Regions from separate parts of the Homo sapiens genome. Here all the other regions are linked to region 1. Evidence: promoter capture Hi-C in human tissues and cell types (Jung and others, 2019). All regions are on one chromosome and are shown on one strand. Each heading gives the region's core, a stretch centred on a gene start or on the middle of the fragment in contact. The rest is flanking DNA. Distances are from core to core; before and after follow the strand shown.

Region 1 (6,252 bases), core at 1,408-3,907:
TCAGTGACTATTGAAAGTATCACTCCACAAATCAATTCCTATGATCCACCACACACACACACTCAAATGAGGGTTTTCATTATTTTAATAGGTGAACAAATCTACACAACAGTGATGACCCAAATGTAAAATTCACAATTAACAGTCTAAAAACTGTTCCTATCCTATTGGTATTAACCCCTCATATAACACAGGCGAGCTCCTCCCCTTGCCCAGACACTGAAAACACTACAGAAAGAATCCCACCATATCTTACCTGACTAGCAGTCGTAATAAAATGAAAACATACTTTTGCCAACCAAATTCAGCTATAAGTATTGTACTACTAGTATGCACGTAAATACAATTCCTTACACATACTTTTCTAACACTGTTATATTCAGTTTCAAAATCTAAAGTACTATCTAAGCAACTTGCTGATTTCAAAGGCTGCTAAATGTTTCATTTACCCCCCTTACAAAAAAAAAGTCACTGCAAATTTTAGTAGTCTGCAAAAACTAAAATTCAACGATTTTGAATGGTCAACTAAAAAAGCAGTCTTCACTCCTGCATACAAAAGGGTAATTCAAAGAATAAACCCTCATTTTTTTTAATAATGTATGATTTAAAGCAGTAAGATCCTGTAACGTCCAACAGAAAATGCTCCAGGTTCAAAAATAATAAAAACTAAAGACATTGCCTCTAGTTGATACTATCTATGGCCGATAGGCTGTGCTTGAAAATTTTGTAGTGTTAAGCGAAGGAGTTTTCAGCACTGATATGAATTGCTCAAACATCCATTTTGGAGTCCTCTACCCCCGCCCTCTCAGACTTCATTTTGTGAAGATTTTGCGCGAGGTGCTGCAGTGACAATTTCGAGAAAGCCTGGGCTGGCTTCAGATCCAAACCGGGATGCGAAAGAGCAGGAAAGGGCGCCCTGGAGCCCAGCGGCCCGTGCGGGTCGGGGGAAGCGCGGGCGCCGGGGAGGCCTTTTGGGCAGGCGCGCCACGGGTCCGGGATGGCGGGCGCCCGGCCTCGGCGGGGGCGGGCCGCGCGCGGGACTTACCGCTCCGGCGGCGGCGGGGGCCCCGGCTGCGGCGGCCGCCTCCTCCTCGTCGTCGCCCGGCGATGGCGGCCCTATCTTGCTGCAGGTAGCGGCCAGCAGAGCGAGCGGTGACGGCTGAGTGTCCTACCCCCAATGGGCGGGTTCAGAGAGGGAGACAGGGGGAGGGGGTGGCGGTTAGGGTCGGGCCGCCTTTCGCACAGGAAGTACGACTCGGTCCCCGCCGACTGCGCCCGGGCAAGCGCCAGCCCGCGCTCTCCTCCTCCTCCTCCTCCTCCTCCTGGTCCCGCCGCCAGCCCACGCCTGGCGTCCCCCGCTCCAAGCACCCCGGCTCCCCGGTCCGCGGGCAGGCGGGCGGCGGGCTGCGCGCCGGGCCTCCGCCTTCCGCCCGGAACCCACCCCCGGGAGGGCACGCTGGGGCCCACACTCACACGCGCACAAAAAGGCGGCAGGCGGGCGAGGCGGGGCGGCGCGGGCGGGGTCGGAGCGTTGGCGCCTCGGGCGGGCAGCTCCCGGGGCGGGGGGAGGGGAGTGGAGGGGAGGGGAGAGACGAGGAGGGAGGGGTGAGGCGAGGAGGGAGGGGAGAGGCGAGGGGAGGAGAAAGCGGCGCGAGGGGGGAGCCGGGCCGGGGTTCAGCCGCTCCTCACCTGGGCCGCCGCTGCCGCCGCCACCGCACCGTTTCCGTGCTGTTGCTGCTGCTGCAGATACTCGCCGTGGCCGCCGCCGCCGCCACCGCCGCCGCCGCTATCCACGTCCAAGGCAGCCATTTCCTCTTGTTTCACGGGCTTTTCGGGAGCTGCAGGCACAGCGCGGGGGGGTGGGGGTGGGGAGGAAGGCGGGTGGCGGAGAGGGAGGGGGCCCGCGGGCCGAAGCGAAATTACTCCCAAAGCCCGGACCCAGGCCCCTTCCCCTCCCCCACCCGCCCCCCGGCGGCGGCGGCGGCGGCGGCTCCCTCCTCCCCTCCTGCTGCTGCCCCCGCCCGCCGCTGCCTGTAACCCTCCTCCTCCTCCTCTTTCCCTCCTCCTCCTCCTCCCCGCGCTGCCCCTGCCCCCTCTCCTCTCCTCCCCTTTCCCTTCGCGCCGCTCGCTCTCACTCGCGCTCGCTCCTCTCGCACCGTCAGTCACTCACACACGCCCGCCCGCGCCCGCACACAGGGGGATGCGCTCCCGGCGGACCGGGCCGCCCGCCCCGGGGCCTGGCGGGGAGACGGCGTTGCTGGGGCTTCGGGGGTGGACGGTGGCTGGCGGGGAGGGGAGGGAGGCGCAGGGGAGTGCAGCTTTCTGCCTCTCACAGACACTCGGTCGCACACACGGGGCCGAGACCGGCGGCAGCGGCCCCGGGCTGGCTGTGGTCGGCGGCAGCGGCGGCGGCGGCAGCAGCAAGGGTTGCTCTCTCGGCTTTACGTACCGGTCATAGTGTGTTTAGGGCACCTCAGGCGGGGCTCCCCGCCGCCTTACACATGGTGAGGAGCGAAGGCGGCGGCGGCGGGAGAGGATGCGGGAAGCGGCGGCGGACACGGCCGGAGCGGTCCGGGGATTTTTTTTTCCTATTTTGATTGACTGTGCGGGAAACACAAAAGGTGGAGCCTCCAGCCCAAAAGGGGGGAAGAGGGTGACAGCCCGCCCGGAACTCCCGCCCCTCTTCTTGGCTCTCATTCGCCGCCGTGCTCTTTGTCGGCTGTGCTCATTGGTCCAGGCGCCTGTCCGTCGGTCTGCCAGGCGGCGCGCTTCCTGTTTGCCCCCGGGTGGAAGGGGAGAGACAATGAGCGGCCGTGGCAGCGTAGGTTTTCGAGAGCGGCTACGGCTCGCCGGTTACCCCGCTGTGCCCGCCTCCCTCGCCGGCTGCCGCTGCCAGGCCCGAGGCGCAGGCCTCCTCCACCTTGCAGGCGCTCGGAGCAGGCCTAGCCAAGCTGTAGGGGAGCTGAGCTGGGGAGGAAATTCGTCCCCGGTGACTCCTGCTCCACTGGACGCTTCCTCCATCCCGGCAGCAGTCTTGGCCGGATCTCCCCAGGGCCTCGCGCTCTTGGAGCCGCCGCTTCCCTGCGCTGCCAGGAGGCCACCGCTGCTCAGCCCCGGGGCTGCTGCTGCGGCCGCTGCCGCTACTGAGCAAACCAGACCCGCCCCACGAGCCCGGGGGGAGGGAGCTGGTATTAGGGGAGACACCCCCTCCGAGGCTGGAGGAGGATTTTTCTCTCTCACATCCAGCTTCCTGATTCAGTCACAGCCATCTCGCTCCCAGCCCCCTTAGCCCCAGTTTTCCAACCGGTCTCCCACTTTCACGTACCCTGAAGGCAGGCATTTAAAGCAAAAAAGAAATCTCAAGTCACCTCACATACGGAAGGAGAGTTTTAATTTTGGCCAGTGGCACCAAAACGGGCACTTAAAAGTATATTTCATTTTACTTGTGGTATGTGTATGTATTCAGTGGGGCAGAATTCTGTGTTTTAAAAAATCGGTCACATAACCATTTTGCTGCACAAACGTATTATTCCCGGCCTCTTTATCCTCTTGGTACCAAGTCAGATATCTCCTGAAATAAGCCCATCAACCACTGCCAACGTTTTTTAAAGTCGTGAACCGGTGAACTACCTTTTTTCCCCCATTGGAACATTTTTGTTGTATTTTAAAATCTTGTTTCTCTTACTGGATTAGGTTAACACTCCTTCCTTCTTTGGCATCCTTGGTATCTTGCTGTCATCCTGGGGGAAAATGCTCAGGTTTTAAGTGTGTGTTTTGCCAACTAAGAGACATCTCTCCCTGTTACCTTCAAGTATAGTTGCCAAGAAAGAAGTTAAATTCAAGAGGTGGAAACACTGTCCACAATACCTGTTTTTTAGAAATCTGGCTCAAGATTCAGTTTTCCCATTACTGTGATTATTATATTTTGTGTGATATGTGATGTGCTGGTGGATGAGGTTGTGAAGTCCAAGCACTTTAACCAGATTTTGTGTGTCCTAACTTAATAGGTAATCCATTTGTGAGATACTGAGTTTACATCCCAGTTCCAAAGCACTTAACCGCCTATGCTGACAGGATCAGAAACATTGTATGGTTACTTTGCTCTTAATTGTACAAAGATCAAATTTCCAGGGAATTAACCTAAAAACCACAAACATGCGGAAACGAGACTCAAAATTCTGAGTCCAAGAATAGGGTTCATCTCTTCTAATAGTCCTTGTAGTCTCATATTTAAGTGGAAAAGTCACTTTCAAAGTTGAGTCGTATAACCTATGTACTATTTTACAACAAAAACTTTTAAGGAAATAAAAGTCACAAAATAACCTGATTTGGGGTGGGGAAAATGGAAAAAGAGATGGGTGCCTTGAAGAGCGGGACAGGTGAAAATAAGTGGACTGGGAGGGAGGAAGGGAAGTCACTATTATCACTCTGTTCCTACCCGGATCTCTTGGGTGGAAGGTAGCTCTTTCCCTAGAAAGGATATTTCAGGCATTTTCAGTTTTGTTTTGTTTTTTTTTTCAGGAGTGGGGATATGTTCTACGCTATCGCCATACCCTTTTTGCAAAGTGTTAGTCCAGCCACCTTGAGAGCAAAGTACTTGGCCACAGGAGTTAAATTCGTTTCTTCATTGATACCAATTGGCAAATGATATGAGACATGAATTGTCTTTTTTCTTTCTTTTTTGGGGGGTGGGGACGGCACGTCCGCAGACCATTTTGACAAGCAAAAAAAACACTTCTGAAAAAGAAAAAAATAGCCTAGCTGAGCGTGGTGGCTCACACCTGTAATCCCAGCACTTTGGGAGGCCAAGGCAGGCAGATCACTTGAGGTCAGAAGTTCGAGACCAGCCTGATTGCCATGGTGAAACCCCATCTCTACTTGAAATACAAAAATTAGCCAGGCTTGGTGGCGCACACGTGTAATCCCAGCTACTCAGGAGACTGAGACGGGAGAATCACTTGAACCTGGGAGGTGGAGGTTGCAGTGAGCCGAGATGGCACCACTGCGCTCCAGCAAGACTGAGACTGTCCCAAAAAAAAAAACCTACCTGAACTAACTATACTGCTTTTGATGCGATGCTTTTAAGAGATACATATGGAGGTAGGGTGACAGAGGTTGGTTAATTGGTACAAACATACAGTTAGATAGAAGGAATAAGTTCTAGTGTTCAATAGCACAGTAGGGTGACTATAGTAAATAGCAATATATTTTATATTCCAAAATAACTGGAAGGGAAGATTTGAAATGTTCCCAACACAAGAAATGACAAATGTTCAAGGTGACAGGGGAGAGGGGGCGGAAAAAAAATGTCCAAAGTGATAGATACCCTAAACACTCTGATTTGATCATTACAACACTGTATGCATGTATCAAAATACCACATGTACCCCATAAATATGTACAAATATGTATCCGTTTTTTAAATTTTTTAACAAAAGATGCATATACCAAAAGCATCACTCACTACTTTAGTCAGATTCAGAGAACCCTCTTAGACCACACTTGAGTTATTGTCATGGAATAGCTTTTTAAAATGGCTGGAAATGAAGATAGTCTCTTGAAAGAACACCTTTTCCTACCTATTTCAGTATTGTAGTCAAATCTTGAAATACAAATTTTTTTTTTCAATGGCATGGTCTCGGCTCACTGCAACCTCCGCCTCCCGGCTTCAAGTGATTCTCCTGCCTCAGCCTCCCCAGTAGCTGGGATCACGTAGCGCCCGCCAGCATGCCTGGCTAAGTTTTGTATTTTTAGTAAAGACAGGGTTTCACCATGTTGGCCAGGCTGGTCTTGAACTGCCGACCTTGTGATCCGCCCGCCTCTGCCTCCTAAAGTGCTGGGATTACAGGCATGAGCCCGGCCGAAATACAATTTAATTAAAATACTTATTTTCTTATTAGAAAGCTGCCTCTCAATGGCACCTACTGCTACATTTACATAGTAACCCAAAATTGCAGTTGCTTAGCAGGGAGAGAATCACAGTGCTGGATATTATTTATACTTTTTCTTCCAAAACGATTTGAGGAAGTACTGTGCTGGCCATTGTTTACATCATATTAGGAGATCTGGATGTCACTTTCTTTTCCCATATCCTCGATTTCCTCACTTTTTAAAATGTCATGTGTTTTTGTAAGTTTTCTTAAATCCTTTGGAAATGTGATGACGGTGAAAAATCCCTGAAGGCTTCTATACACCTGTTGGCATGGAATATTTTGCAACCCGTTTCTTCCCTACAAACAGAAGAGACAACTA
Region 2 (6,252 bases), core at 2,053-4,552, 960 kb before region 1:
TACCTGAGGTTTTTTATGTAGCAAATTAATTAGGGTATAGTAGATATAATCGTCAGGATCACTGGCTCCAGGCCAATTATTCTCAGGTCAATATTTGTTGAGTATCTTGTTGGGCAGACACTAAGCTAGATGCTTTGGACTAGGCAATGTGAACAAGGAATCATTCTCCTGCCTTCAGGAAGCTTATAATCTGTTAGAAGACATAAAGGAATGTGCACATAACTTGAATATAAGGCAGAATGTGGTTAGTGCTTCAGGGACACTGACTAGGTGAGGGATCTAGAAAAGTATCATGGAAAATATAGAGTGGCCCTGAAGGAGGCTGGTAACCAGTAATTAGAGATAGGGACAAAGCCATCCATACTAAGGGATAATATTAGCACTGACCTAGAAATAGACAGGGAAGAGTGAGTGGTCGGATTTTTACTGGACTATTGTATACGTAAGTTGGAAAACGAAGGAAAGGTTTAAGAATTGGGGTATAGATCTTAGAGAGTCTTAAATGTAAAGCCGGCTGGGTGCAGTGGCTCATGCCTGTAATCCCAGCACTTTGGGGGCCAAGGCGGGAGGATCACTGGAGCCCAGGAGTTTGAGGCTACAGTGAGCTATGATCATGCCACTGCACTCCAGCTTGCACAACAACAACAAAAAGGTAGAGCCAAGCACTGGGAAGTGGTTGAAGATGTCTGAGCAAGAAGAACATGATAAGAACTATGCTGGAGAAAAGTTACTCCATATTTAGTATAGAGAAACTGTTGAAGAACCGGTTATGTGAGGATAGCTACCAAGAGCCATATGTAACCTCAAATAAACCAAATTTCCAGGACCATGGGTCAGGAAAAAATGCAGCTGATTTTTTCCCTCTGATTAACTGTTTGCCCAGAATGTGTGATTGCATAATGCAAGAATCAGCATCTTACCTAAGGTATATATTGACTCAAAAAAATATATATTCTGGTACATTAGAGACTGTGGCATCTAAGGAATGAGCTATAAGATCTTTACCACCCATGAAGGGCAAGTATAGCCTTCCTTTCAAGTCACCTCTAAAAGAGATGGAGATTGGATTATTGCTGCTGCTTCTGCTTCTTTTGTTTAGTTTTGTTTTTTTAATTACTGTTCCTTGCAGAGCAGGGCTAACCCATGGGCAGTGTGCCAAGAGTAGCCTGATTATTTCTTCTTCATCAAAAAAATTAAAGCCTAGAAATCAGTGTATTCTAAGGCTGGCGTGTGGGATGTGATTCTTGACCCTTCCATTTTTGATGGTAGAGACTAGGCTAACATCATAATTTAATATTGAACTTCATTTCCTGCAGTTTTTCCTGATATTTTTTTCCTACAAGTAATGTTTATGCCTTGGAGATAAAGAACAAACCAGTATCTTTCTCATAAATCAGAAATACAAATGTGCCTCCCTCCTGTCCTGGACACTAAATAATCCTAGGGTAGGTCCACGAAATTTGTGGATATACCAGAGTAGGAGACCTTTGGCAGTTATAGATTTACAGTACAGTAAGAAAGGTCAGAGTTACCGTGAAAGTTGTTTACATCATAAAAATGCACACTGCTGAATTTGACATTACACTCTCTTAATTTACCAAAAATCTGTTTTCTACCTGAGACCTATTAGTTCTTATATTTTTACTTTTAAAACCAGCATTAGTCATGGAGTGACTTGGTAAATCATCTTCTAGTAGGAAGTGATGTTTTAAATTAGTTCTTAAGCAAATTTTAACCTATAAATTAGATTTCCAGTGTTCATGTTTTTGATGAACTTACATTGGCAAAGTCTGAATCAGTGACTAAATGTTTAACCATGATTCTCATTTAAATATAAGTGATGAGTGTAATCCCAAGCTGTCATCACTCAGTGTCACCAGTCACCTTCAGTCTCATTATACTGAGAAGCAGAGAAGGTGCCAGACAGAAGAGTTGCTACATGTGAGGAGAGAGCCGGAAAGCCACACTGAAATGTGAGCTGAGTGGTTGGCCATGTTAACTGACTCCCTCCCCAGCCTTGGAGCACCCAAGTCAAGTCTCTGCTTTAGCAAACTTTAAACTACTGGATATTACAGCCTCCTGGGTGCATATAAGCAAGTATTACCTACTCTGTTCTCAAGAATATATAAAACATATCAAGATGGTGCTAGATGTTAAGCTCAGGCAAGCCAAAATCCTTTGGTACATTAAAAAAAATATTTTCTTGCAGCCTCTGTCTGACACCTTCTCTGCTTCTTCTCTGGCTCAGTATAACGGGACTGAAGACCTGGTGACATTGAGTTGTGACAGCTTGGTATTACACTCATCAGTTATATTTAAATGACTATGTATAATGGTTAAACCTTTAGTAACTGACTCAGACTTCACCAATAAAATTTCATTAAAAACATGGACAACATTTGGCAATCTAATTTATAGCATTAAAATGTACGTATTTCTCACCATTTTCCATTTAAGATGAGCGTCACAATCTCAGACAGTGTATTTCATGTTTTCCCGGGAAATGTCATGGCATCTTGGGTTCCAAGTTCTGATGGGCATAGTCCTGAGGTTTTTAGGTTTGCCTTCATGAGCTTTCCCATCTGGCTAGCCAGGGCATGTTGTCTGCAATGAAGAACCAGCATCAAATTCAATGATGAAGTAAATGAAGCTTATTTGGGGGACCTGCCTTACTTCCCTTGCCAACCCCCTGCTTCCTTACCTACAAAATAGTTTCACATATAGGACAGTCACCATTTGAATCCACCAGCTTCTGTTTTGTTAGCCTTTGTTTTGCTCTAGTTGCTGCTCACAGCCTTAATCTTGTTTTCTTTCTTTCTTTTCTTTCTTTCTTTTTTTTTTTTTTTTGCTGCTTCTTTCTCCCCTCACCAATTCTCTGCTCTTACCACGTCCTGATTCTGTAATTCTATTGTCCTCCTACCTTTCATTGCTTCTTTTGGAAATAGGAGGTGAAAAAGACATAAAAGAGAAAGGATTTTGAAAAAACAAATACGGTATAGACAAAGAAACGACCATGTCTTCGTTCTGCATGTATGGTACTGCCCACATGTGACCCTTTAAGTACACAGATTTTAAAATCTTTGGTGGCTAAGGTACCCAGTGCCGTTTGTACAAGGCTGTCTCTCTTTAAAATATTATACTTTTTGTCCATTGTCATAAGAAACTGATTTTCATCTCAATCTCTGTCAACACCATTATTTATATGAAGTGCTTCCATGTAAAGTAAACTCATGCCCCAAACCAATGTGTTAGAACCAATGACTAAGAACAAGTGAATGGATACTCTTGCTTTCCTAAAGATTTCCACAAGAACCTAATTTCCTTTTCTGTTTTTTTCCCCTTCCAGATTCTGTTTTAAATGACTTTATTATGATGCACTGTGTTTTTATGCCAAATACCCAGCTTTGCCCGGCACTGGTGGCCCAATATCCTTTTATTGTGATTGTAAGTCCCTATTCCCTCGAAGACAACCCCCCCTATCGAGGGCCATTCTTATCTCATCTTCTGCAGGTAAGTCATGGCCCAGGCAGAGTTGTGCATTCCACCCTCATCACACTGAAATGTGTTTTCCCACATTTCCCACAGTTTTCCCCTGTACAGACTCTAGCTCTGCCTGGCAGAGGTCTGCTGTGCCATGTTTAAGGATTTCCTCCTTGTTACCTGTATTGGGCCATTCTTTCATTGCTATAAAGAAATACCCGAGGCTGGGTAATTTATAAGAAAAGAGGTTTAATTGACTGGCAGTTCTGCTAGGAAGTATCGTGCCAGCCTCTGTTTCTGGGGAGGACTTGGGGAAGTTACAATTGTGGCTGAAGGTGAAGGGGGAGCAGGAGCGAGGTGGGGGAGGTGGCAAACACTTTTAAACGACCAGATCTCATGAGAATTCACTATCTCAAGGACAGCACCAAGACACGAGGGGTCCACCCCCATGAACCAAACACCTCCCACCAGGCCCACCTCCAGCATTGAGGATTACATTTCAACATGAGATATGGGCAGGGACAAACATCCAAACTGTACCATTATCTGTGCAGAGAAGTGTGAACCAGCTTACCACAGGAAGGTGATGCTGGCAAAAAAAAAAAAAAAAAAAAAATCCATTGCCTGGGAGGCAGGCTAGAAAGGGTTATGGAGAAGAACCTGGGAGTATTAGCAGGAATGGTTCCCTAACCTCAGAGACAGACTGTTCCCTGGCAGGGTGGACTGTGGTCGGCTTGTGTTCCTCCTCCGAGCTATGGTATTAAATTGCTAAGCTGCTGAGATAAATACAAGTTATCACTGTAGGATAACTTTCTTTTCCCATTCATCCTCGTCTATCCTCTCCTCTAGATACCAAAATTTCTTTCTTTGTTACTACTTTTTATTATCATCTTACTGACTTAAAGACCCAAAATTTGAAACTCCAGTGACAATTCCTCTCTATAGCTTGAAGGCCAAGTTTATTTGGGACAGCTTTTCAACAGTGTTTGGAATGGCCCAGTTGATGCTGGTATGTAGCACAGAGCAAACATTCTCAGAAAATGGGAGTGGAATAAAAGAAGTGGGTATTATTAATAAGCTTCACACTCAATTTTGGGAGCATGTGAAAGTATATTCTAAGATTTTGTTTTATTTTTAGAACAACAAAAATTTAGACCCCAAATCACTTTGGCCCTTTTGAGCAGTTAAATATATTGAAGGAGAATGACTCTTTTATTCTTTCTTTTTTTTTTTTTTTAGGAATTCAGTGAATGTTGGCATGTTTTCCTCATTCAAGATTATAATTACCCTACCTGATTCTCATTTTCTTGTTCACTCATAATTCTCTTTGAAGTAAACAATGTATGAGGACAGGAGATTTGAGTTGAAGGTGCAACTCAGAGGCAGCTTCAAGAGGGAGATTTGTGTGTTTATTTGCCTGGAAACTGTTTTACCGAGTAATGATGGCTTAATGAGACTTACATACATTATATATTTTTTCTGGCACATACTCAATTTTTCTCGAGTAAAATGAACAAATTCAGGATGTCTGTGCTCTTTTAACTCCATACGCACTAATCATTATAGACCTTTGAGATTTGCTGGAAGGAAAAATAAAATCCACCATTGAGTTTAGACTTGGTTTTTTTTAGCAGATAAGCCTAAGGCAAACAAAACTCAAGGGCGAGTCAGCGAGTTCAGCGGGCCAAGGCCCGGCATCTTTACAAGTCCAAGCCCCAAACACTGCGCTTGTCTTTTTTTTTTTCAGATTCTAACTTCTTCGTGTATTAGCTTGTTCCCCTTCAAGGGTTGACTGAGAACATTCAAATCACTAACTTCTCTTTTTAAAATAGCGCTCTGGAGAGAAGGTCCGTTCCATGCCCAGGTAGGGAGGAGGGGGAAAAATGATACTGGCGGGCAGGGAGAGGGGAAGGCAAGAAAGCAAACAGGCGTGGAAGAGCTGTGACGTCAAATCTGACTTCTTTTGTCTGTAGACGGGGGAATCCAGGGTGACTGGGTATAATCTGTATTATCTAGGTCCCTCAGACCACCTGGCTCATATCTGGCCCTGTGGGAACTTAGATTCTCTTCACTGTTCTATTTTGAATCAGCTCTGTCTGTGTCAGGTGCATGCTAAGAGCATTGACCAATATTATACCACTCTATCCTGGCAGGATTCTATTGGGTTAGTATTAGCTTTGTGTTACAAATCAGGGTCCTGAAGTTACCCCCAGCCCCCACAAAAAAACAAAAAAGGAGTGGCTTGCCCAGGGCAAATAGCTGAGTTCTCCAGATGATTCCAAACCTGGAGTTTGCCTTTTTTTTTTCTCTCTCTCTCTTCACAACTTATTTATTTGAAAGCTTGTTTAAATTTTAATGATTCTGTAACCTTTAATTAGAGTTTAAGAACATTTCAAGACACTATATTGCATCATAAACTGCTTAACAGAACACCTGCAAGCAACAGGGATGTATAATGCAAACTTGAACAAGTGGTTTAACCCCTATGTTTTTAACGTGGGATATTAGGGATAGTAAAATACTTAACTATGTTTCATTAGTCAGTTGCTTTAGTGGAGTATTTTTAAAGTGCTTAACATCTGGAACTTTTCATAGCAGCCCTATGAAGAAGTCAGTATTTTTACTGCTATTTTTCTAAATCAATAAACTAGAATAATGAAAACTTATGAATTGCTCAGAGAAAGGTAATTACTAGCAGAGAAAAGATTTGAGCCCTGAGCTACTGACACGTATTTCTGTTCTTAATCCACATTGTGTGTCTCTTCCAGTTTT
Region 3 (6,252 bases), core at 1,699-4,198, 800 kb before region 1:
ACTTAGGATAATGGCCTCCAGCTCCATCCATGTTTCTGCAAAGGACATAATCTTGTTCTTTTTTATGGCTGCATAATATTCCTAGCTCCATCCATGTTACTGCAAATGACACAATCTTGTTCTTTTTTATGGCTGCATGGTATTCCTAGCTCCATCCATGTTTCTGCAAAGGACATGATCTTGTTCTTTTTTATGGCTGCATAGTATTCCATGGTATGTATGTACCACATTTTCTTTATCCAGTCTACCTTTGATGGGCATTTAGGTTGATTCCATGTCTTTGCTATTGTGAATAGTGCTGGGACGAACATGTGTCTTTATGGTAGAATGATTTATATTCCCTTGGGTTTCCCCCATTATATTCCATTACCCAGTAATGGAATGTAAGTATGGAATATAAGTAATAGAATTGCTGGATTGAATGCTAGTTCTGTTTTAAGTTCTTTGAGAAATCTCCAAACTGCCTTTCATAATGGCTAAACTAATTTACATTCCCACCAGCAGTGTATGAGCATTCCCTTTTCTGTACAACTTTACCAGCATCTGTTATTTCTTGACTTTTTTTTTTTTTTCTGAGACGGAGTCTAGCTCTGTCGCGAGGCTGGAGTGCAGTGGTGCAATCTCGGCTCACTGCAACCTCCGCCTCCCAGGTTTAAACGATTCTCCTGCCTCAGCCTCTGGAGTAGCTGGGATTACAGGTGTGTGCCACCATGCCCAGCTAATTGTTGTATTTTTAGCAGAAACAGGTTTTCACCATGTTGGCCAGGCTGGTCTCCAACTCCTGCCCTTGTGATCTGCCCGCCTCGGCCTCCCAAAGTGCTGGGATTTTTTAATAATAGCCATTCTAACTGGTGTGAGATGGTATCTCATTGTGGTTTTGATTTCCATTTCTCTAATGATTAGAGATGTTGGGCATTTTTCCATATGCTTGTTGGCCGCATGTATGTCTTCTTTTGAAAAGTGTCTATGCATGTTCTTTGCCTACTTTTTAATGGGGTTGTTTTTTGCTTGTAAACTTTTTTAAGTTCCTTATAGATTCTGGACATTAGACCTGTGTGAGATGCATAGTTTGCAAATATTTTCTCCCATTCTGTAGACTGTTTACTCTGTTGACAGTTTCTTTTGCTGTGCACAAGCTCTTCAGTTTAATTAGTCCCATTTGTCGATGTTTGCAAAACAAGCTTTAAAGACACAGAATCTTTTAAGGAGTCTATGGCAGCTCTCCAAAATTAAATAAACAAAATAAAATTTGGGATTAGGTTGAAAAAAAGTTTTGAATTGAAGGAAAAGAGTCCTTCTGAAGATGGAGATATTTTTTAACTGTTGGAAATACTTCAAAGGAAGATAATTAAAACTATGATATTTAACTTCTTTTAATATCTCTGAATCAGTCGTTTGGAACCTGTGTGTTAGTCGATGTCTGGAAACATGGCAAACTGAGCTAATGGCTCGTTTTCCCCTGTAAACTTATAGAAATGCCGATAAAACAAACAACAAAATACTCACGACCTCCCAGGTTAATCAACAAACTAAAACTTCTGTAATTTTTCTGATAAAGGAAAGAGGAAAGGAGAAAGGAACTGGCCCCAGCTGGAAACAATAAGAGCAGGCAAACAATAATCTGTAGAGACATTTTGGTACCCTAATAGGACATGACTATTAGACATTTTTATGAATAGACCTTGATTCCTCCGTTTATATCTCAGATTGGGGCCCTTTATTTTATGGAGAATCTTAGAGCCTGAGTTAAAATTGGCACTTTGGGAGGCCAAGGCAGGTGGATCATCTGAGATCAGGAGTTCGAGACCAGCCTGGCCAACATGGTGAAACCCTGTCTCTACTGAAAAAAAAAAAATACAAAAATTAGCTGGGTGTAGTGGTGCGTGCCTGTAATTCCAGGTACTCAGGAGGCTGAGGCAGGAGAATTGCTTGAACCTGGGATGCAGATGTTGCAGTGAGTGGAGATTGCACCACTGTACTCCAGCCTGGGCGACAGAGTGAGACTCTGTCTAAAAATGTATATATATTGTTGCAGTCTGTCCCAGTCTTTTCTTAGATCCTCCAAGTCCTAGTTTGGAAAATTACATGTTTATCTTATGGATACTTAGACCGTAGTTTGTATAACTTTAAGATGACTATTGAATACATAGACTCTGATCACTCATCTCTGCAAAAATTTAGAATACCATTTTTTAAACTTTTGTATTGTGGTAAAATATGCATAGCATAAAATTTGCTATTTCAGCGTAATTAAGTGTATAATTCAGTGGATTTATTTGTTTATTTAGACAGGGTCTCACTCTGTTGCCCAGGCTGGAATGCAGTGGCACAGTCACAACTCACTGCAGCTTTGACCTCCTGGGCTCAAGCCATCCTACTGCCTCAGCCTCCTGAGTAGCTGGGACCACAGGCATGTGCCAGAACACCTGGCTAATTTTTTATTTTTAGTAGAGACAAGGTCTCACTATGTTGCCCAAGCTGATCTCAAACTCCTGAGTTCAAGTGCTTCTCTTCTCCTGCCTCAGCCTCCCAAAATGCTAGGATTACAGGCATGAGTCCCCGTGCCTGGCCAGTGGCATTTATTATAGTCACAGTGTTGTGCACCCATCACCACTGTCTGTTTACAAAAATTTTCATCACCCCAAACAGAAACGCTGTACCCATTAAGCAATAACTCCTCATTTTCTCCTCCCATCAGCCCCTGGTTACAACCTCTAATCTGCTTTCTTTATTGCTGAATGTGTCTGTTCAAGATAGTTCATATAAGTAGAATCATACAGTATCTGCCCTTTTGTGCCTGGCATATTTTACTTAGCGTAATATTTTCAAGGCCCATTCATGATGCAGTGCATATCCAAACTTAATTCCTATTTACAGCAGAAATAATGTTTCATTGTTTTTATATATAGCCTCACATTTTATCTGTCAGTTGATAAACACTTTGGTTGTTTTTACCTTTTGTTTATTGTGAATAATGCTGCTTTGGACATTGGGTCCAAGTATCTGTTTGACTCCCTAGAAAAGCATTTTGCACACTGAGAAATGTGTAGATCTTTTATATAGAAAATTTTAGTCTTCCAGATTTCACATGTTGACTGAAATTATTTCTGTGTAACTTAAATATACATAAACATAAAACTAAGAATTAACTCCTTATAACTCTCATATACAGGTAAATTCAAAACCAATTTTTCAATTAAACAAAAATAAAATCAATACAGTTTAAATTAACGATTGTTATCCAATTATATTTACTGAAAATAAATGGCTTATGTTGGTTTTAATAGTGTAAAAAGATATACTTTTGTATGATGGACCATTATTTTAGCTTTCATCATTTTCATGTTTTCCTTTTAACAGTGAACACGTTTTTAAACCACTAATCCATTATTTTGATGCGCAGCTCATTTGCTAGATTATCCCAGAATATAAATCTGGAAAACAAAGGAAAAACAGCAATTCAGTGACAAATTATTTACTACACATTTATTGCAACAGTTTTTCTGTTTTTTTTTTTTTTTTTTTTGAGACGGAGTCTCGCTCTTTCGCCCAGGCTGGACTGCAGTGGCGCTATCTTGGCTCACTGCAAGCTCCGCCTCCCGGGTTCACGCCATTCTCCTGCCTCAACCTCCCGAGTAGCTGGGACTACAGGCGCCCGCTACCACGCCCGGCTAATTTTTTTTTGTATTTTTAGTAGAGACGGGGTTTCACCATATTAGCCAGGATGGTCTCGACCTCCTGACCTCGTGATCCACCCGCCTCGGCCTCCCAAAGTGCTGGGATTACAGGCGTGAGCCACTGCGCCCGGCCAACAGTTTTTTTTTTAATGAGCTCTTGCAAGCAGGTGCCTATAAAGGCAAAATCCAGAGAGTATATCTGCTTGCTGTCAGAGGGTGATTGCAACAACACAGGTTTTAATAATTTGGTTAACCTCACACTTGTTTTTATTGGAGCTTATTTGAATTGCTGACATCATGATGTCATTTGACCTTCATTTATTACAAACATATCACTTACTTATTCAGTCTGCCTCTGTTTACTGTTGGCCCATTTCCATGAAATCAGTACAGCACTCTAAAATAACATGTTGTTTTTATTATGTTAAATCAGATTCTTAGTTTATTATATAAGAACCTAAAATCTTATTTCATGAAAATGTCATTTACTTGGAAATAAAACTGCAAATTTTTTTGCAAAAAATATGAGCACAACAAGGGGATAGAGGATAATGATTGTTATTTTGACATTAGCATTTGCCAGCCTAACAGCTGTTAGACATGCTTACCGGCACCTGAAATGATCAATCCTATCTCCTCAAGATATCACTTGGCAATATCTTAAATATAAACATGGAAACTAGCTGGCACACTGAAAATCCCATCATGCTGCATTGTAAAGTGGTCATCCAAGGACTCAGAATATACTTGTATTTATTCTTTATTGATAGAAAAATCTTTAATGATCACAAAATTCAGGTGCCCCAAAGAATATTCCGAAGGATAACACTGCCTCAGTTTGACAAATACTGGTTCAAACATTAACTCTATTGCTTTACTCACATTGAACTTTAATGCTTTATTCACAAACAGTTGGTCCTACCACTTAAAATGGGGGCTTTGTGATTTCCAAACTGCACATACATTCTATTTTTACAAAAAACTTTATTTATTATTTCTAATAATAATAAATAAACTTTATTTCTAATAATAATAAATAAACTTTATTATTATTTATTATTATAGTAAGAAGTAGGGTTGCCATGTGGATGAATAGTTGTGTTGCACAAATAATACATCTTCTTCCTAGTTGAGAAACTAAACTATGAGAAGAAGGTTGCTTGATGAACACAGACCCCTCTATACACACGAGGCACTCAATAAGTATTAAGGAATTGTTTGATTAAGCAGCGATAGCCCCCTTTGACACATGTATTACTATAAGAAAACACTGTCAAATCAAGCTTGATAAGCGTCTCATGCAATCAATGATATTCTTTATCTCAATTTCATATTGACCCTATGCCGACCCTCAAACTTGTTTTCCACCTAGTTACACCACCTTCAAAACCAGTTTCGCAGCTGTTTTTAATGAAATCCCAACTCTTATCCTATGAAAAAAACTGATTAGCAAATAACACTAATTCATAGTGTACACATTCCCAAAGGGGAGTCCCTTTCTGACCAAAGTGTCTCCATTTTCATTAACTGCTGACATTCTTCTTGATGATCCTCTTTCTGGGGTGGGGACTTATAAATCTCCAGTCTACTTACTGCCAGTAATATGCCTTTCATTGAAAAATACTGAATATTTTCTATATTTAACTTACGTGATTTTATACCTCATATTTATAATTCTTGATTAGCCATATTTTATCTCCATAAAAGTCATAAAATATTGATGAATATAAGATTTATGTAGAGATCATCTTTCTATTGACATTAGCAGATATATATTATAGTATCTGGTTTTTTTGTTTTAAAAATTAAGTTTAATAAATACAACTTATTTTTACCATGTCACTCTTCAGTACCACTTTCTAATATTTAACACGTTTCAAAATGTATAAATACGGCCTCCTATCGAATCACCACTGAAGGTCAAGAATCTACCTTTATATGTTTATAGTACCTTGCATACAGAAGGAGAACAATAATATATTTTGCATAAATGATTAGATAAATAAGTGGGTATTACCTGAATACCCACTTATTATTGACTCATCTAACCAACAGAAGTTCAGTCTGGCTGTAGCCTCTCAGAACAGACATTTTGCAAAATATATATATTGGACTATTAGGAAGAGGACCTTCACTGTAAATAAATGGGGTATCTCTTCAGTCATTCTCCTCCATTATCAGTCAGGTGGGCTTGCTAGCAAGCGCCTCTTTTATCGCTTCTTCAACCCCATTTTCTTTTTAAATTTTCAGAAAGCTTCAGTAGAAATGTTTCAACTTTCAAGAAAGACAGCTTTAGCAGAATCACATATTTGTTGGGCACATATATACCTTTGTAAATGTACATAGAAGAAAACTAAGGCCGGGCATGGTAGCTCACACCTGTAATCCCAGCACTTTCGGAGGCCAAGGTGGGAGGATTGCTTGAGCCCAAGAGTTCGAGATCAGCCTGGACAACATAGACCCCATCTCTTAAAAAAAAAAAAAATTAATTAGCTGAGTGTAGTGGTGTGTGCCTGTAGTCCCAGCTACTTGGGAGGCTGAGGCAGGAGAATTACTTGAGCCCAGGAGGCCAAGG
Region 4 (6,252 bases), core at 1,101-3,600, 780 kb before region 1:
TACCCCACATCCACTCCCAGGTCTTGTTGGAATGGGTACTGAGAAAAAGCCAAGCTGCAGCCAGGTAACCATAGACATCCAGAACTTCGGTAACTGGACATCAGAATCTGCAGTTGGGTACCTGCAGACAACCAGATGAAAACCACAAATTTTACTCAGAACTTTGGCAGATTTAGAAGGTAGTTGGTAGCGGAATACCTTAGTCGTGGAGCCCTCCTTTCAGTGGTTACTGTGCTATTTTCATGCAGACTGCAGAAAATTAAGGTGTCCTTATTAGGTATTGTAAGAAGCTAGATTTACCCACAGTCAAATTCCAACCTCTAAGAGATTAAAGCTTATAAATTTGACTTCACATATACATGTTACTAATGTAGACATATTCTGTTTTCATTTTATCAGTCATGGAAGAATAAGACATGTGAATTAGTTTCTGCTCTTGAGTTCTTTGAAAAACTATGAAAGGTAATACTGATGTAATGTTGAAAAATATTAATAGGCCTTTATTTCTTCTTGTGTGAAAAGGAATGCATTATTTACATATGGAGGCTCCTGTCAAGGTGATTCACAGAGACCTCAAGTCAAGAAACGGTAATGTAGTTATGTTTTTATTTTACCTATTTTATTACAAATTACATACACTTGCATGTAGAAATGAGCATCATTCTTTTACATATCTTTTGTAACCTACTATTGGACTCACTGCTGATACCATGGAAGCCTTTCTACTGTCAATAAATAACAAAAATCTCAATATTATTTAAAGAAGCTGCATAGTATTTCACTGTATAAATATAGCCCAGAATGTGGACATTTGAATTGTTTACATTTTTTCTCTGATAAGAAATGTTGGGCTTAATATTTCAGCCAAATTTTTCAAGACATCCCTAATTATTTCCCTAGAATCATTTTCTAAAAGAGATACTGCTGTGTCAAAGTATGCAGTCATATATTTTTAGTCTTCTATTTTTAGGTGGCTTTGTGCACTATCAATTTTGAATTTTGTTCTTGTTGCATCTGAATTGCGTGGTGTGAATTGTTGATGCCAGTCATGCCTGTATTACCTGGAGTAGTGCCCAGAAATGAGCCACATGATTGGAAGTTTGGAAAGTAAAGGCTCTCTTTTTCTTCTTTCTCTTCTTCTGTACTTTCTAAAGCTTATTTATGGCCCTGTATCTTATAATTTGGAGGGTGAGCATTTTAAAATAACTTGCAGGATTAGACATTACCTTCAAGTAGGAGTGGTAACAGAATGCTTCTTCTGTTACATCACTTCAGAGTTATCTGAGAAAGGCAGTAGCATTATAGCACTAGCTAAAGTAAACATCAGAGTTTGCCACTTTTCTGAATACCCTCCAATCAATTAATTATTTACATGCTTTCTAAATGCTCCTTCTCAGTAAGGAGGAAGCGAACTATCTATTTTTAGGAGATCTTTAATTAAAACGAGTATATGCTAATAGTGTGATCCTTAGAATGGGTGGTGATGACAAGTAGTGGAAGAGAACCAGGGAATGAATCGATCAGGTACCCTTGCACGTGCCTCAGGACTGTGAGGTTTGTGTGTGTGAGTGTGTGTGTGTTTAGCAGGGGGTGAAGGGATGGGGGCGGGGAGGGAAGTTATCAGCACCTGCCACTTATCAGTAGTCCAGGTTGGACCACCAATTTAACCCTGTCTGATTGTCCTTTCCTCTTCTAGGTTATCATGTATTCTTTGGTTCTTCTTAGACTTAAGCTTCCTGGAACTAAGCACTTTTGATATATGGTCAGCTAACAGGAAGTCATTAGGAAATAATCTAGGCTGTAGTAGAAAAGATCAGAGTTTTATGAATTTGTAAATTTTCAGTTCATGCTCAGAATTTCAATTTAACTATGTTATTTGACTTCAGTATATCTTAAATCTTCTACAAAAGAGGAATGATTAACTAAATTATGGATTTTTCCCTGCTATCATTATGAAGACTATATAACAATGGAGAGTGTCCCCATTTTAAAAAGTTACAGTTATATGTATTATAGTTACTAAATAGGAACACACATACACTGATATTGAAAGAATATAGACCTAACTTATAGCAATTCTTTTTCCCTTGGAAAGGTAACCAGAGTTTCACTTTCTATGTTATGTATTTTTATAATGGCAGTTTTTCTAGTGAGCACTTGTTAATCTTATAATGAGAAAGCTGAATATAAAATTAATAATATTTACATTTCTATTTGTAAAAGTTTGTAGCTTATTACTTATAGTACCAGGTTTACCCTGAGGCTATTTTCAAATATTAGATCATACAAAGATCATTTTCCCTCCTTGGTAAAATCATCAGTAACTAGTAAGTATTGATCATCTATCATGTTCAAGGCACTGCACGGTTTACAAAAGAAACATCTGAAACAGTTCTTCAGAACTTTATCCTTGGACTCATCTCCTCTTATGCTCTGAGTCTTGCACTCCCATAAAAGCCCTATTTACATATTAACACTCAAAAACAGATCTCAACTTCAAAACTATTTTTCTATCTGCTGATTAGACACATCCACATAGATATTTTTTAAGACACTAAAATATATTATGTCCAAATTAATCTTTTCATTTTCTCCCTAACCCCGAAAAATCATCCCTGCATTTCTTTTACTGAGTGGCAATACTGTTTGCCCAAGCCAGAAATGAGATAAATAGTAGTTACAGTTTAAAGCCAGAGCTCCTATTCTAACCATTAATCTGTATTGCTTCTTTATCTGATTTTATCCTTGAGTTCGCTTCCTTCTCCCCCAATATCCAGCCATTCATTAAGCCTAGGTGATCCTACATCCTAAATATTTTTTGACTCGGTCAACTTTTCTCCTGTCCTTTGCCACTGCCTTAGTACAGATGTCCTCATCTGTCTCCTGGACCACAAAACCTTGAGTGCCAAGTGATGCCCTTGCCTCCAGGTCTATTCTTCTCTGACATAGTCTCCCCTCTGCACCTTTGCTCATTTCATCCCTCCACATAAAATTGTTCATTGGCTTTCTCTTTCTCTTCTTGACCTGGCACCTACCTTCCAAAATTGCCATACATTTTTTGTCTGCTCCTGAGTTTTTGCATAGGCTCTCTCTTCTGCCTAGGAAACTACTTTCCTCCCTCAGCTCTCCTCTTCCTGGTTAACTCCTGTGTTTTTCAGGTTTTAGCATAAGCATCATTTCTTACAGGAAACTTCATCTGACCGCCCTCGACACAGATATCATTGTTCTTTGGCTCTATAGTATTGTTTCTCTCATCATGGAATCTATCCCAGTTTGTTGTAGATGTTTATTTAATTGTCTCTCTGATAAGAATATAAACCCCCTGAGAGCAAAGACAGTGGCAGACTTGCTTACAGTCCTGTTCCACAGCATTATACATGGCGTTACCCACAGTAGCCTCAGCAAATATTTATTAAATGAATGAATGTATGAACAAGTGAATGAATGAATATTCTCTCCACCTTTAACAAAAATCACTCAGTTGGGAGGAAACCATATATATAATATGAAGTAGTAAAGCTAATGACTACCTCAGTATCACATTGGCAGTACATGGGCAGAACCCAGGTAAAAATTTGGTTCTCCTAACTACTACTAATTTGTGCCTTTCTTACTGGACAGTACTGCATTTGGATAAAACAAGTGTCTCAGAAGCCTTTTTAATCAGTACCTAATGGAATTAAGTTTTTGTTTTAATGTCAGCCCCCTTTTGCAAAATCCTCAATGCTGTAAATACATTGATTTCACCTTTCATAATCCCATATTGAAGACAGAAATAGAAGTTTATGGTTTTTTTCAGTAGAAGACAGCTCAAACAAATTAGATGATTGTCATAATTTATCCTTTTTTCTTTTTTTAGTTGTTATAGCTGCTGATGGAGTATTGAAGGTAGGACTATTTCTTTTACTTAAAAAAATTGTTAATTTCAGATGTAGATTTTTGTAACTGATAATCCCTTAATTAGCCAATAAGTAGAAAGTTGACACTGATTCCTGTTTTCTCAGATCTGTGACTTTGGTGCCTCTCGGTTCCATAACCATACAACACACATGTCCTTGGTTGGAACTTTCCCATGGATGGCTCCAGAAGTTATCCAGAGTCTCCCTGTGTCAGAAACTTGTGACACATATTCCTATGGTGTGGTGAGTTCATTTCTCATTTCTTGTTTACTAAGGGAAATACAAAAAGCAAACACTCAAAAGAAGAGAGATACAGTTTAACATGGTTTTATTTTTATTTGAGACTGTACTGCTGGTGGAATGCCTAAAGCAGCACCATTGGAGAACGCTTCCTAGTTGCCAAAATGTTTAATCATTTTTAATCATCGGAGTTATTTTGTCCTGTGTTGAGAAGAAACCAACACCACTTCCAAGAAACAAATTAAATGGAATCCGAGATAGTGTTGGGCTCCGCTTTGCCTGTGAGAATGATTTTTTGCAGGGTGGTAATGTGACTGTGGACTCTCTCTGTAATTTCAATGGAAATGTGGATCATTTGGAACAGGACTTCATTGTAATGGATTGCTTAAACAGTATAAAATCACCAATAGATCTGCCAAGCGAGTTAATTACCAGGAAACTTTTGAGTCTCAACTATTAAACTGATTCATCGGTTTCTAAAAGTCCAAAAGAAAATGTACTTAGCACTTACCAGATGACCTTGTCCATGTCTGCTGCCAGTCTTAGAGTAGCAGTGACTATCTGAAGCGTGACTCTAAGGCATTACATAAGAATCACAGCAGAGCCACATAGAGAATAGACTAATGAGGGGGTGGAGTGCTCAAGGAAGAGACCACAGGAATGAATCCGTTAAGGAGCAGAAGCTCCTGGAGGAGGAATTTGGAGATGGGCCATTTCCTGAGGAATAGGTTATACCTGCATTATCAGAGAGAAGGAAGTGGAGTGGGAGAGTTCTTTGCTGGAGGAAGGAATTCATTTGTTGCCTTTTGTTGAGGATAAACTTTTCCCTAAAATGTTACGTATTCTTTAAAAAGTCCAAAATAGTTTTGGAATTCCCTGTCTTTACATCTCATACTGCCCTGCTATTTATACTATTATACTGCCCTGCTGTTTATACTATTACTTCCTAAAAGGGCATTTTCATAGTAATGGGTAAAGAAGCAGCCTGTTTTAGGTCCAAATCAGCCTGTCTCTTCGTCCTGAACTTCTGTGTTTTCTTACTGCAGGTGGTAGCCAATGACACAAGAGGAGATTCACGTTGTCAGACCTGTTTTGTTTTGTTTTGTTTTCTTTATTCGGTCTCTAGGTATTTAATGCTGGCTTCACAGGTTTTGGACTTGTTTCAGTGACTAGCTTTTTGTAAATCATAACACATCCTATGTATACCAAATTAATAAAGATTAATTTTGTTAGCTATTGAAAAAATCATTTCAAGAATGAAATATGTTTTTGACCGAAGGCTAGAATTTTAAAGGTCAGAAGGCAAGAGTAACATCAGGCTTAATACCTGATATCCAAAAAAAGAAAAAAAATCAATACCTGATATCCCTTGATTCTGGTTTCTTAAGAATGAAGACTATAAGCTATTACAGTGATCAAATATTTCTCATAAGTTTCAGAGGAGACTAGCTTATAAAACTGGTCTCCTATGTCAAATGTTACTACATTCTAACCATCATACATTCATCTGTGGGATATTCTGAAAATGGGGTATTTGTAGCAATTTAAGACTCTTTGTAAGATTGTTTTCTCTTGTGAAAGTGCATTCCTTCATTTATAACCAAACGTTTATTTACTGAGGCACACACCACCTGAGAGTAATTTAAATTTTTCTTAGCCTGCTTGTTGGGAACGGCCTCTCGTTTTGTCCTGTTGAAATAGGAACAAGCAAACTTTTTCTAGAAAGGACCAGATAATATATATTTTTGGCTTTGAGGGCCACTTACAGTCTCTGTTGCATAGTCTTCATAGATGCCATAGTTGGCTTTTTGTTTCTTACAACCCATCAAACATGAAAAAGCCACTCTGTATTCTGCAGCAGGCCATCGTTGCGGGCACCTCCCTGGAACAAGAGGGCTTGGGAAGATGAGCAGCGTGGTTTAGGAACGTGGCTTGACCGTTCAGAGTGGCTCACCAGGAGCCCACTGCTCCCACTCCTTTAATGTGCATGTGTATATAAATGTATATAAACATGTTTGTTGGTGTTAGGTATATATGTATGTTGGTTATAGTTATTGTAGACTGTTACAGCTTTTAAATTGTTTGTCACATTTATATGAACTAGAAGACTTTT
Region 5 (6,252 bases), core at 1,558-4,057, 620 kb before region 1:
TTCCTTTTTCTAATCAGGTGTCAGATGTCAGCAAACTGATCTACTTAAAACAGTGTTGACATACAATGCAAAACAAACATACCAATATGGCTTGGAGAGCCAGCATTTGTGAACCAAACAGCCAGGGTGATAATGGGCTGGGCCCTCCAACAGAGCAGCTTTTGACAATTGAAGCCTAACGTTAGGCCTTTTAGCTATATTGCCTTTATGCATCCTGAAAGCAGGCACTGGAGACGTAAATCTGTAATTAGGGGTTATTTAAAACAGAGATTTGTGACCTGACAGACTGCAAACTGTCTATATCCACAAACACAGTGAAATTGCTCCAGCCCTTTGTCTCCAGGGGTATCTGGTCTATTGAAGGTCTCTGGTTTACAGGGGCGCTTGGGTTCATGTTATACCGCCTGAGAGATGGGTGCATGGGACCGAGAGCAGCACATGAAACATTAGCATTGTTTCTAAATCTCATCTAAAAATGATACATGCTATTAGCGGTTGCATTCTTTGTCCGAAAACCAGTCATTCTGAGTTGAAGTTTAACTTACCTCATTATGTAAGTGCTCTGAACCTCACAGTCAAGTTTCAAACTTAATAATAGGAAATGGAATTCTTTGTGCAAGGTGAATAAAAGGTATAGAGAAACACAGAATTCTTAGGGTTTGTAGTAGCCCAGGGAATTCAAAGCTCTTTAACAAGAGATTGATATTTTAGAATATTTTGAAGATTTAAAATTCCAGGGCTGGGGATGGTGGCTCATGCTTGTAATCCCAGCACTTTGAGGGGCCAGGGCAGGCGGATTGCTTGAGCCCAGGAGTTCGAGACCAGTCTGAGCAACATGACGAAACCCCCATCTCTACAAAAAATAGAAAAATTAGCCAGATGTGGTGGCCTACATCTGTGGCCCCAGCTACTTGGGAGGCTGATGTAGGTGGATTGCTGGAGCGCAGGAAGTTGAGGCTGCAGTGAGCCATGGCTTGAGCACTGCACTCCAGCCTGAGTGAGAGTGAGACCCTGTCTCAAAAAAGAAAAAATGTAAAAATAAAATAAAATTCCACCTACAACCACTTTAGTTGGAAAAATAGCTAATGCATGCAGGACTTAATACTTAGGTGATGGGTTGCTAGGTGCAGCAAACCACCCATGGCACAGATTTTCCTGTGTAACAAACCTGCACATCACATCCTGCACATTTACCCTGGAACTTAAAAAATAATTAAATTAAATTATACAAATAATACTTATAAATATAATAAGTATTTACTGAGTACCTGTTGTATTAACAGCCCTCATATCAAGTAGTGTCTGTGTAAGTATGTACTTATAAAATGTCATTTCCTTTTACCTTTTGCTGTGGCCTGTGCCATCATCTTTCCCTGGACACTGATTTTCCATGCTTATTCATTTTGTGTCTTTCATTTAAAATGAAAATATTTACCAGTGTGTGATTAATACAGTGACTTAAAACCTTTATGAGGCATCTAAAATTGCATGACAAACTTGCATTCCTATTTATAGGACCCTGTAAAGGAACTGTATATTTAACACAATAAATATATTGATATTGATTGTCAGAACAAACTCTCCAAAACTTAAATATTTTAAAATTATTAAATGTTTCAGATTAAAAAAAAAAAAGAAAAAAAAAAGCACAGAAAGTAAACATGTAAAAGACACCCATGTACTAATCACTGGCATTTGTCACATTTAACAATTTGCCATATTTGCTTCCCATGGTTTTTATTTTTCAAGAAAGCATTGTTAAAGCACTGACCTTAGACAAATTAAATTTAGCAGTTTAATGGAGCAAAGAATGTTTGCAAATCGGGGATCCCCTGAACCAGAGTAGGTTCAGAGAGGCTCCAGAGCAGCTGCATGGTGGAAAAAGATTTATGGACAGAAAAAGTGAGGTACAGAAAACAGAAGTGAATTACACCAACAGCTGGATTGGTTACAGCTCAGGGTTTGCCTTATTTGAACACAGCTTGAACAGTTGGTCACCCTTGACTGGCCAAAACATGGTGGTTGGTACAAGAGTAAGTTAGTCTGTTTATATACCCAGTTGGGTTACAGTTCATTGTGTATGGAGAAGCTTTAGGCTGAACTTAAAATATGTAAGGAGGCGGCTTTAGGCTAAACTTAATTTAACAGCATTAATGATAGCTGGGTGCAGTTATGTACACCCATAGTCCCAGCTATGTGGGAGGCTGAAGTGGGAGGATCACTTGAGGCCAGAAGTTGGAGGCTGTAATGTGCTATGATCACACCACTGCACTCCAGCCTGGGCAACATAGCAAGACCCAGCCTTTTTTTAAAAAAAAAAAAAGAAAAAGAAAAGAAGAAAGCATTAATAATAGAATCAAAGGACCCACCCTTGCCTCTTTCCTCCATCTTTTCCACCTTAAGTTAATTTCTGTGCTATTCTGCTTGTCTAGGTTTTTATACTCTCCCAACTTAGGTATGTTTTGTGTTTCTAAAATTTGCATAAAGGGTACACTTTACAGACACTTTTACTATTTGCTTTTTCATTGAACACTGTTAAGATTTCTCTACAATGATGCCAGTAAGCTATGCCATTAATTTGAACTACTGTTCAGATTCCATTGTACAAATACACCACTGTTCATGTATCCATTTCCCTTCTGAGGGGCATGTTGACTGCAGTATTTTACTATGATACATAATGCTAATATGAATGAACCATCCATCCCTCAAGTCCAGTTAGCTCTAACTTTTATAATAATCATATATCTTAAATCTGACTTCATCTGACCCCACAACTATCCCAGTCCAAGCCATCATTTGCTTCTCCAGGAGCCCATAGGTCTCCCAGCTTTCACTCTTGGCTCTCCTTCAGTTTACGACCCACACAGTTCATGGGGTCGGATTGGGTCTTTCTTTTTCTCAGAATCCTTCAATGACTTCCCATCATATCTGGAATAAATCCAAAGTTCTTCCCATGGCCAAGAAGGTCCCACATGATCTGGGCTCTCTCCCTCTTTGCCTGGCTTTCTGTAGTGTGCCTTGCTGTGCACTGCCTTACAGCCTTTGGGCCAGCTGTGTACTGTGCCTGAAACCAGCACTTTCCTCTTCTTCCTGTAGCTTCCTTCCTGACTTTGTTCATGTTCCTCCTCAGGTGTCACCTTCTCAGAGAAGCCTTTTCTGTTTCTCTTATTTAAATTTGTACCTCTTTCATTTTCTCTCCCCTTGTCCTGTCTTTAGCTTTCACCTTGCTTTTATTTTTCTTCACGGAAGTTAGCACACCTGAAACTATTTTTTTGTTGTTGTTTACTTCTGCTCTCCTACTAGAATGTAAACTCCTGGAATCACAAATTTCTCAATAGTATGTAGAATGATGAATCCGTTTCAGAAGGTTTTCAATGGACTCTGTTCAGATCCATCAGAGGAATCACTATCTATGGCAGCTACAGACTTATGAAATGTATTTCTTTTTTTTTTTTTTTTTTTGAGACGGAGTCTCACTCTGTTGCCCAGGCTGCAGTGCAGTGGTGCAATCTTGGCTTGCTGCGAGCTCTGCCTTCTGGGTTCACGCCATTCTCCTGCCTCAGCCTCCCGAGTAGCTGGGACTACAGGCGCCCACCACCACACCCTGCTAATTTTTTGTATTTTTAGTGGAGACAAGGTTTCACCATATTAGCCAGGATGCCCATGTCCTCAGGCATTATTTACTTGCTCCATCTCCTGACCTCATGATCTGCCCATCTCAGCCTACCAAAGTGTTGGGATTACAGGCATGAGCCACCGTGCCCAGCCATGAAATGTATTTCTTAAATAATAAGACTTTAAAGTCAAAATTACTCCCTGGTCCACGGACTGCAGAATGGATGCTGTGTTACCAGGCATGAAAACATTCATCAATCTCCATTAGAGCTCTTGGGTGAATAGGGGCACTGTCAATGAGCAGTAATATTTTGAAAAGAATCTTTTCTTCCGAGCAGGTCTCAAGAGTGGGCTTAAAATATTCAGCAAACTACGCTGTAAACAGATGTGCTCTCATTCAGGCTTTGTTGTTCTGTTTATAGAACACAGGCAGAATAGGTGTCGCATAATTCTTAAGGAATTAAGAACGTGGAATGGTAAATGATCAATGGCTTCAATTTAAGGTTACCAGCTGCATTCATCCCTAACAAGAGAGTCAGGCTGTCCTTTGAAGCTTTAAAGCCAGACATTGACTTCTCTCTAGCTATAAAAGTCCTGGATGGCATCTTCTTCCAACAGAAAGCTGTTTTGTTTACTTTGAATATCTTTTGTTTAGTGTAGCCACCTTCATTAATTAGCTTAGCTAGGTTTTCTGAATAATTTGCTACTTCACCTTGTACTTTCATGTAATAGAGATGGCTTTTTCTCTTAAACCTTGTGAATCTTAAACCTTGTGAATTGACCTCTGCTAGCTTTCAACTTTTCTTCTGCAGTTTCCTCATCTCTCTCAGCCTTCACAGAGTTTGAAGAGAGTTAGGGCTTTACTGTAGATTAGGTTTTAGCTTAAGGGAATGTTGTGGCTGGTTTGATCTTCTCTCCAGACCACTTAAATTTTCTCCCTATCAGCAATAAGCCTGTTTTGCTTTCTTATCGTTCGTGTGTTCTTTGGAGTAGCACTTTTAATTTCCTTCAGGAACTTTTCCTTTGCATTCACAACTTGGTTGTTTGGCACAAGACGTCTAGCTTTCTTCTTATCTCGGCTTTCAACATGCCTTCCTCACTAAGTGTAATCATTTCTAGCTTTTGATTTAAAGTGAGAGATATGTGACTCTTCTTTTCATTTCAATACTCAGAGACCATTGTGGAGTTATTAACTGGCCTAATTTCAATATTGTTCTATCTCAGTGAATAGGGGGGCATGAGGATAGAGAGACAGGATGGTTGGTCAGTGGAGCAATCAGAACACATACAACATTTATTGATGAAGTCTGCCATCTTATATGGGTACAATTTGTGACTCTCCAAAATTATTACAACAGTAATAGCAAAGATCAGATTGCAGATCACCATTATGGATATAAAAATAATGAAAAAGGTGAAATATTGCAAGAATTACCAAAACGTTACACAGAGACACTAAATGAACATGCGCTTTTGGAAAAATGGCACTGATAAGCTTGCTATACTTAGGGTTGCCACAAACCTTTAATTTTAAGCATAGTGCAATAAAATGAGGTACGCCTCTATTCCCAAATTGCTCTGCAAAGTTAAAAATTTACACTACTAACATCATTGTGGGAGTTTCTCATATTCTTAACAATATCTGGTCTTATCAGGCGCTTTAAATTTTGCCAGTCTGAGTGAAATTGTATCTCCTGTGTCAGAGGCATTTGAACTACAGCAACTCCATCTTGAATAGGAGCTGGGCAAAATAAGCCTTGAGACCTGCTGGGCTGCATTCCCAGGAGGTTAAGGCATTCTATGTTACAGGAAGAGGTAGGAGGTCAGCACACGACACAGGTCATAAAGACCTTGCTGATAAAACAGGCTGCAGTAAAGAAGCCAGCCAAAACCAAGATGGCGAGGAGAGTGACCTCTGGTTGTCTTCACTGCTACACTCCCACCAGCGCCATGACAGTTTACAAATGCCATGGCAACATCAGGAAGCTACCCTATATGGCCTAAAAAGGGGAGCCATGAATAATCCACCCCTTGTTTAGCATACAATCAAGAAATAACCATAAAAATGGGCAACCAGCAGCCCTCGGGCTGCTCTATCTACGGTGTAGCCATTCTTTTATTCCTTTACTTTCTTAATAAACTTGCTTTTTCACTTTACGGACTTGCCCTGAATTCTTTCTTGTGCAAGATCCAAGAACCCTCTCTTGGGGTCTAGATCGGGACCCCTTTCCAGTGACACTTGTTTTAATTTGCATTTTCCTGATTACTAAAAAGACGAATAGACCAGAGATCTTATCCTTAAAAAACACATACACCAAATTATTTTCTTGTGCTCCCAGGAAGACTAAAAATTTCCCTATCAGAACCTTTCACAGGCAAAGTGACTTAATCTTCCCCTGCTTCATGGATCTAGTAATTCCAAATTTTCATATATTTAGCTTTAGTGGCACAAAATTATATTCCCAAATGTTTATTCATTCAACAAATACTTACTGAGGGCCCTGTAATTCCGTAATTTCACCACCCACCGATAGCCTCTCCTCCTGGCACTCACCTTCTAGACCTTGAGCTCTTTGTCCCTTGCACAGTGGCAGAGTGATTACTGGGTAGGTATATTTAAGAAAGGCTGGAAGA

What was found. Contacts are between HindIII fragments. The study calls those that stand out against the background at their distance.
Region 2: a fragment that was not itself captured here is called in contact with the fragment with the promoter of SP3 in region 1 in 1 of the 25 tissues and cell types used here (psoas muscle).
Region 3: a contact is called between a fragment that was not itself captured here and the fragment with the promoter of SP3 in region 1, in 1 of the 25 tissues and cell types used here (aorta).
Region 4: a contact is called between a fragment that was not itself captured here and the fragment with the promoter of SP3 in region 1, in 1 of the 25 tissues and cell types used here (H1 embryonic stem cells).
Region 5: a fragment that was not itself captured here is called in contact with the fragment with the promoter of SP3 in region 1 in 1 of the 25 tissues and cell types used here (heart left ventricle).

The regions. Positions count from the first base shown.
Region 1 is chr2:173,962,716-173,968,967 of GRCh38, forward strand. SP3 (Sp3 transcription factor) reads right to left here and starts at 2,658. Exons shown (of 7, transcript NM_003111.5): 1 at 2,450-2,658; 2 at 1,690-1,838; 3 at 1,046-1,168. The coding sequence starts at 2,456. RefSeq lists enhancers at 349-1,172, 1,173-1,995 and silencers at 856-1,105, 1,236-1,725, 2,056-2,335, 2,836-2,905. The HindIII fragment of the contact is 28,349 bases long and covers 1-6,252 here.
Region 2 is chr2:172,997,920-173,004,171 of GRCh38, forward strand. RAPGEF4 (Rap guanine nucleotide exchange factor 4) reads left to right here. Exons shown (of 31, transcript NM_007023.4): 17 at 3,347-3,425. Among named protein-coding and RNA genes, the nearest start is that of MAP3K20, 75 kb to the right of the region's middle. The HindIII fragment of the contact is 3,773 bases long and covers 1,417-5,189 here.
Region 3 is chr2:173,163,405-173,169,656 of GRCh38, forward strand. The region is part of intron 2 of MAP3K20 (mitogen-activated protein kinase kinase kinase 20); the gene reads left to right. Among named protein-coding and RNA genes, the nearest start is that of MAP3K20, 91 kb to the left of the region's middle. The HindIII fragment of the contact is 4,993 bases long and covers 453-5,445 here.
Region 4 is chr2:173,187,036-173,193,287 of GRCh38, forward strand. It overlaps MAP3K20 (mitogen-activated protein kinase kinase kinase 20), which reads left to right. Exons shown (of 20, transcript NM_016653.3): 5 at 523-588; 6 at 3,860-3,888; 7 at 4,005-4,142. Among named protein-coding and RNA genes, the nearest start is that of MAP3K20-AS1, 92 kb to the right of the region's middle. RefSeq lists an enhancer at 4,520-5,101. The HindIII fragment of the contact is 5,248 bases long and covers 1-4,974 here.
Region 5 is chr2:173,347,511-173,353,762 of GRCh38, forward strand. No RefSeq gene overlaps it. Among named protein-coding and RNA genes, the nearest start is that of CDCA7, 4.2 kb to the right of the region's middle. The HindIII fragment of the contact is 3,669 bases long and covers 974-4,642 here.